2 separate regions of the Homo sapiens genome follow, and region 1 is linked to region 2. Evidence: promoter capture Hi-C in 16 types of primary human blood cells and fetal thymus (Javierre and others, 2016). All regions are on one chromosome and are shown on one strand. The core of a region is centred on a gene start or on the middle of the fragment in contact, and the rest is flanking DNA. Distances in the headings are between cores, read along the strand shown.

Region 1 (3,561 bases), core at 1,059-3,558, 530 kb after region 2:
CCCAGGCTGATCTCAAACTCCTGACCTCAAGCAATCCTTCCGCCTCGGCCTCCTAAAATGCTGAGATTATAGGCATGAGCCACCGTGCCTGGCCAAATTAATCATCTTTGGAGAATCTCTCTCTGTTTGTTGTTAGATTGATATATCTCGTCTAGCACCAGGCATATAGTAGCTATCCAATAACTATTGATTAAAAAACTAGAAAATAATGTGTGAGTGGGTGCTTTGTCCTGATTACAGTCCATATCAGGGTTACAGGTGACATATCATGAGGCTGGAGCAGAAGGATATTGCAACAGGTTTTGAAAAGTCAAGGAACGGGGATGGAGTCTCTAAAGACTGAGTGAAAGAGGAAAACAAACATTCCCTCACCTTCTGGCATTTTCCATGTGGAATTTCCAGATTTTTAGTCAATTTCTTGTTACCTGTGCTAAATAACCATAGAAAGCCTATGGAAAATCCTGCAAAGTGAAGCAAGAGTTCCCTCCTGTTTGCAAAGGCTGCTTTTAAAACAGGAGTTAAAAGGAGAGATAGTAGGCCCAGAACAACACATGTGCAAAAGCACATCTACCTGAGACTTTGTAAGATTTGTTGTGATTAAGTCACAGATGAATAATTGAAATACATTATACTCTAGCCCTAAATCCTTCCTTTGAAAATTCCAAGACATCTTCCAAGCAGCTTCTTCTACTCCATTAGTTTAATGTGTTTCTTTATTACAGACCTGGCATTAAAGGTACCAAAAGAAAATGTTTTGATCTTGCTCCCTGTCTTCAAACAGATAAAGCATTGTCCCTATTGTAGAGATGAGACAAAAGAGGCCCAGAGAGGTTAAAAGTTCCTACATCTATAAAATGAGGTAAGTAACACCAGAGGAATAGCAGGATTCTAACATCGGAGAGAGCAAGTTTGGAGCTGGGCAGACTGAGATAGGAGTGAGCAAGGCCTTTGTCTCTGACAGGTTAGAAGGGATTGCATTAAAAAGGTACAACCCTTCATGGCCTTCCCTGAGGGTATCACAGTCTTGCTTTATCACTAGGCTTCTAATGCCTTCTTTTCAGAATCTTCCCAACCACTTGTGGAGATACGTCCAAGCGAGGTAACTGACCATTAGCTATGCTCTGAATGATCCTCAGCCCAATCTTGCAAAAATAAAATATGATGCCTTATGGAAACCACCCAGCCCAAAGGAGAGGCTCAGGAAACATCAGTTCCCTCCCACAGCCTTCCTTCCTACAATCCTGAAGAAAAAGAGGGTTCTTTTGGCATTGATCCCACTTACTGATATCCAATGTCACAAAAGTTCCGTGTGTCCATGTGAAAGGACTGTATGTTTCGGACGACAGTCTGGCAGTCTGTGGATACAGTGCAGCTTGTGCCAGCGGTGTGGATGATGATGACATATTTGGCTGGGAGGTTCATTTTAGGGCAGTGTGTCTCTCTGGCTTCCCAAGCAGATCGTTTGATGATGTTGGGGCAAACTGTGGTAAAATGAAAAGCCAAGGAAGTAGGAATTTTTTTTGCCTCTCTGTGAGCAATCACTCAACTCCAGGCTGGATTATTCCTCAGCCTCTCCCAGGCCTCCAGCACCCACGGGCACATCCTAATGTAATATCAGCTTTGGGATTCTGGGGAAGTCCAGTTGGGAGGTTTCTGATTCAGATGGCTGGAGCCAAGGGGCTGAGGCAAAAATCTACAGGCCTGATACCAATAGAAATCAGCGTATAAGCAGAAGGGAAAGGGCTGTGGGTTATACAGAGGCATGGTCATTGTCTTCAAAAGACCATGCATTGCAAATATATATGCAGGTATGTGCGCTTATGTAACAGGGCTACTACGCGGAAGTCAGTGGACTCTCCGAACTGATCACACATATTTGGAAACAACTTGAAATCTAGAGAGAACTGTACAAATATTAAGAAATTATCATTATTGAAGATAGTGCCTGTCCAAAAGCAAGAAACATTTTATTTGAGATTTACAGTTTTAAAAAGCTAATTCTAAAAATATCATTGATCCCAAGAAAAGGTCCACTAGCAGGAGTGCTTATTAATTTGACTGGTTTTAGGTTGCTGCTTATTCACTTCAAAATAGTGCATTATTTTTATTACTCAGCTTTTTGTTATATGCACTCTGATGTCAGCATCATCTGTGAGCACAAGCTTTTCTCCGAGCTGTGGCTGTGCTGTGGCCATGGCTGGTTTTTGCATTTAGAAAGGTATGTAAGCTTATGTATGTCCTTCGTGTCCCCACATAATAGACACAACTATGTATACATGTTAATCCCACTCCATTCCCACTCTATTTTTCTCCATAGCTTTTATGCCGTCTAACATCATATACATTTCTTTGTTATTTTGTTCATTTTCTGTCTCTTCTCACTGAAGTGCAAGCTTCCTGAAGGTGAAGAGTTTCATCTGTTTTGTTCACAGCTGTATGCTCAGTACTTAGAACAGTGCCTGCTATGCAGTAAATATTTGTTGACTGACTGAAAATCTGTGTACATATGTATTTGTTTTAAGAAGAAGTCTATGGCTATCTCATTCTGATGGGATGGAGAGGAGGCCAGGAAGATGCCCTCTCAGAATTTTCCAGATCTCAAAGTAGGCATGAGATGTTCTTAGTCCCAGAATCCCATGGGGTCTAACAGGAAAAAGCACTCCCAAACATGACTCCAAACATGGCTAGGTGGTGACGAGGAGGAGGGTGAGGTGACATGGAGGGTCTTACCCTTCCTGGGCATCACTGGATGTTGAGGGTCCAGGCAGGTCTCTTCTTTCAGAAGAAGTGGCTGAATATACCTGGGCGACAGGTGACCCTTCTGGATGGCATAGGAGATCAGACCCTCTGCAGCTGATAAGGCAGCAGGGCTGGGACTGCTGCCTTAAAGAGGAGGACAGGGAGCACAAAAATGTCAGTAAGAAACTCCACCTAGACCAGACACCTGCAGAAAGGATGATATGACCACTTGAGCCTGAATAACTGGATTGGAAGAGAGGAAACTGGTCCAGTTGCCAGAACAGAGTGCCTAAGAGGCGAGAAGCTACCTAGATCTCTTAGCAGCCAAGGTTGAAAACTTCTTCCAAGAGCCAAGCTAAGACTTTATCCACTCCATCTCTAGGCAGAAGAGCTGGAAGGCAGTGAAGGATACATGCAAAGGGAGGCCCACCTGACCAAGTCAGGTGTGCACTAGCACAGGAGAAAAGGCAACCAGAATTTACTCATAGCTCCCCTGATCAGGTGTGCAGTAGGCTTTTTATATCTGTTAACTCATAACTCTCACAGAAAACCTCTGAGAGAAATGCTGTTACCTAGCCCCAGCTGTCAAATGAGGATGCTGGCAGGTGCTGGTTCCATATGTATTATTTCTCAGCTCCATCCCTGTTCTGTGCTTTTCTCTATTTTTCTAGGGGCTAGAAGCCTGCAAATTATACCTCCAGATTTCCTTGCCTGCTGCCTTCTGGTCACTTTCTACCAGTGGAACTGGAATAAGAGATGAGCCATGCTTCTCTGCCTCTGGCAGTCACAGCATCTATGTCAGACAACCTCAGACTTTAGAAG
Region 2 (3,598 bases), core at 673-3,172:
TAATCCATCTTGAATTAATTTCTGTATAAGGTGTAAGGAAGGGATCCAGTTTCAGCTTTCTACATATGGCTAGCCAGTTTTCCCAGCACCATTTATTAAATAGAGAATCCTTTCCCCATTTCTTGTTTTTGTCAGGTTTGTCAAAGATCAGATAGTTGTAGATATGCAGCATTATTTCTGAGGGTTCTGTTCTGTTCCATTGTTCTATATCTCTGTTTTGGTACCAGTACCATGCTGTTTTGGTTGCTGTAGCCTTGTAGTATAGTTTGAAGTCAGGTAGCGTGATGCCTCCAGCTTTGTTCTTTTGGCTTAGGATTGACTTGGCAATGAGGGCTCTTTTTTGGTTCCATATGAACTTTAAAGTAGTTTTCTCCAATTCTGTGAAGAAAGTCATTGGTAGCTTGATGGGGATGGCGTTGAATCTATAAATTACCTTGGGCAGTATGGCCATTTTCACGATATTGATTCTTCCTACCCATGAGCATGGAATGTTCTTCCATTTGTTTGTATCCTCTTTTATTTCCTTGGGCAGTGGTTTGTAGTTCTCTTCCTGAAACTCTAAATACATGGGTGCTAGAATGTTTGATATTATTCCACTGGTCACTGATCATCTGTTCATTTTTTTAATATTTTTCCCTTTCTTCAGTTCAGTTTGAACAATTTCTTCAAGTTCACCGATCTGTTCTTCTGCAACTTATAATCTGCTAAAACCATCCAATAATTCTTTGATGTTATATGTAATTTTGACCATATTTATTTTTCAAATATTGGTTTTTTATTGTTAGATTTTGCATTTGGTTAGTTTTGAGCATGGGAAACTGGGAAATTAAACCCAGGAAATGTGTATTGCAACAAAGCCAATAATTTCAAATTAAATATTGACTATGTCTATTCTTGTCTATACCAACTACACCACTCCAAGTCACAGTTCAAAGCCACCTCATTGGCTGTTCTCTTCTCTTCACCCTTCTCATCTTTATTTTACCTCATCCCTTCAGCTTTTCCTCAGGAAACTGCAAATTCTTTTATGCTATAATTTGGGGCAATATACATCCTTTAGTCCTCTTTTCTTATACCCACTCTGGATCTACCTTCAGAAAGCCCTATTCACTGAGGTACGTAGGAGGAAAAAAAAATGGCCTTTAGTTTTAATAAGAGCCACCTAACTTAAAAGGCACCTGTGACTTTAAAAATTCCCAATGTCCATTAAAATCTCAGGTTTGCCTCTATTTTTCTTTCTATCTATCTATCTATCTATCTATCTATCTATCTATCTACCTATTCATCCATTTCCTAATTATAACCACATGCCACATACTATCTCAGCTACTTCCCCTTTGTTATCTTAATTAATTTGTAAATCCTGCAGAAAAGATATTTCTCTTATTATCTTCATTTAAAACATCAGAAAGCCAATGGCCAAAAATATTGAATACTTTGCCAGGGTCTCCAAGGCCTCTTTTCTCGACTTCTATGATGCACACACATGCCCATGTGCACATGGACAAACCCCATAATGCAGGCATGTGGATTTTTAACCAAGCTATATGGACCCAAAGGTCTAGATGGAAAATTAGTATCTAGAATAGAAGGAAAAATGAGTTGTTTGTGCAGAATTCATAAGTGTGACTACAAGACTGTGAAGAGAGCCATCTTCATAGGAAATAGGCCACGGAGGACTCCAGGAACCATGATGTCCATTTTCACCCACCACAAGCCCCCATTTCCACCAAGCTCTTTCCTAGCTGACAGCAGCTCCCCTGAACACCAATGAAGGACGGTATATGCAGAACTGCCAGTCACCACTCGTCACAAGACCTATGTGGGTGTCGGGAGGCAGGTCCTCTCATGCCCAGGCTCTGTCTCACCGCTGGAGGCAGCACCCAAGGACAGAATAAAAGGGCTCAGGGCCAGAGCATCCCATCCACTCACCTCCTGCGGTGCTGAAGAACCCTGTGCTGCCTGTGATCCTGGTAAGTGTGCCCTGGAAAAAGGAGCAGGGGCTTCCACAGAGGGATGCCCAGGCCAGGGAAGGAGGGGATGGATACTCAGACCAGGGCAGGAGTAGAGTCTAGGCAGGGCCTCAGGGGCCTGGAATTGTGATTGGCAAGGAATGGGGTGGGGGCAGAAAATTGGAAAGAGGAGGTAGAGGGGTGGGGTGGAGTGAGAGAGATTAAGAAGAACTGGTAAGATCTGAAGGGCTGTATGACACAGATTTAGAGGAACCAAATTGTTTTCAGTTGCTCAGTGTGTTTCTCTGGTTTTAGAGAATAAACACATTGGCCACTGGATGTTGCTAGAGTGGGCTGCATAGTGGGAATATAATTTTGGAAATACAGACATACTCACTTTTAGAAAAGATATGCTGAGAACACTGCTACTTAGAGGAAGAAAGGATCAAAGACACCTGTGGATCTTGTTAGATGCCAACAAGAAGATCTGTAGTGGAAAACTGAGTGCACACTGGAGTTTAAAAGCCATGTGACAGTGCCTGGGGACAGGCCTGGGGAGGCAGGATGTGCTAAAGGGCAGAGCCCAGGATGGGAACCAGGGGACCCCGGAACAAATGTGACTGTTAATGAATAACTTTGGGCCAGTGAAGTTACCTCTTTTGGCTTCAGTTTCTTTATTTATATATTGAGTTGGTTGGAACAAATTGACTCCAACATCCTTTGCGGTTATAGTTTTCTCTATTTCTGCAAACTGAAATATATCAGTTCTTCCAATAGAAATTTATTTTGATTTTTCCTTAAAGAGATTTTCATCTCTAAACTGGTCTCAACATTGAACATTTTCAGAATTCTTGGTGATGTGATAGAATGAATGCTGGCCCGGAGCCAATTTATTTCCTGGACTTCTCTCCCACACTTAGGAGCTTTTAATGAGCAGAAACTTTATTTACATATTTGGAGATTATATATTGCATGACAACATCTCAAATAAGGTTTGAAATGAGAATCCATGAATGAAAGCACTTGGTAAACATTGAGAGTGATAAAAACATTAGAGGTGATTTTCCTATGTTTGATATAAGGCTTTCAAAATGAAGGATCTAGAAATAATGCAGAAAGGACAAGAATAGGCAGGGGTGTCCTCTGCCTCCATCTAACTTGCTGTCTGACCCTCCTTCAGCTCCTGAACACCCGCCACCGAGATGTCTTGCCAGCAGAGCCAGCAGCAGTGCCAGCCCCCTCCCAAGTGCACTCCCAAGTGCCCTCCCAAGTGCCCCACACCGAAGTGCCCCCCAAAGTGTCCCCCTAAGTGCCCTCCTGTCTCTTCCTGCTGCAGCGTCAGCTCCGGAGGCTGCTGTGGCTCCAGCTCTGGGGGCTGCTGCAGCTCTGGGGGTGGTGGCTGCTGCAGCTCTGGGGGAGGCGGCTGTTGCCTGAGCCACCACAGACGGCGTAGGTCCCACCGCCACAGACCCCAGAGCTCTGACTGCTGCAGCCAGCCCTCAGCGGGCTCCAGCTGCTGCGGAGGGGGCAGTGGCCAGCACTCTGGAGGCTGCTGCTGAAGTGGACCCTGTGCCTAAAAGAGCAGATTTAGAGGCATGAAAGGGGCAACTTCATCTTCCTTGGGACTGACTGTGTTGCTGGGACAT

Evidence for each region. Contacts are between HindIII fragments. The CHiCAGO score rates a contact against its expected background, and 5 or more counts as called.
Region 1: a fragment that was not itself captured here is called in contact with the fragment with the promoter of LCE1F in region 2 in 1 of 17 cell types (M2 macrophages); the score reaches 5.9 in M2 macrophages.

Annotation. Positions count from the first base shown.
Region 1 is chr1:153,301,127-153,304,687 of GRCh38, forward strand. It overlaps PGLYRP3 (peptidoglycan recognition protein 3), which reads right to left. Exons shown (of 8, transcript NM_052891.3): 5 at 2,731-2,883; 6 at 1,283-1,481. Among named protein-coding and RNA genes, the nearest start is that of PGLYRP3, 10 kb to the right of the region's middle. The HindIII fragment of the contact is 166 bases long and covers 2,226-2,391 here.
Region 2 is chr1:152,773,218-152,776,815 of GRCh38, forward strand. LCE1F (late cornified envelope 1F) reads left to right here and starts at 1,923. Exons shown (of 2, transcript NM_178354.3): 1 at 1,923-1,973; 2 at 3,133-3,598. The coding sequence starts at 3,155. The coding sequence ends at 3,511. The HindIII fragment of the contact is 9,364 bases long and covers 1-3,598 here.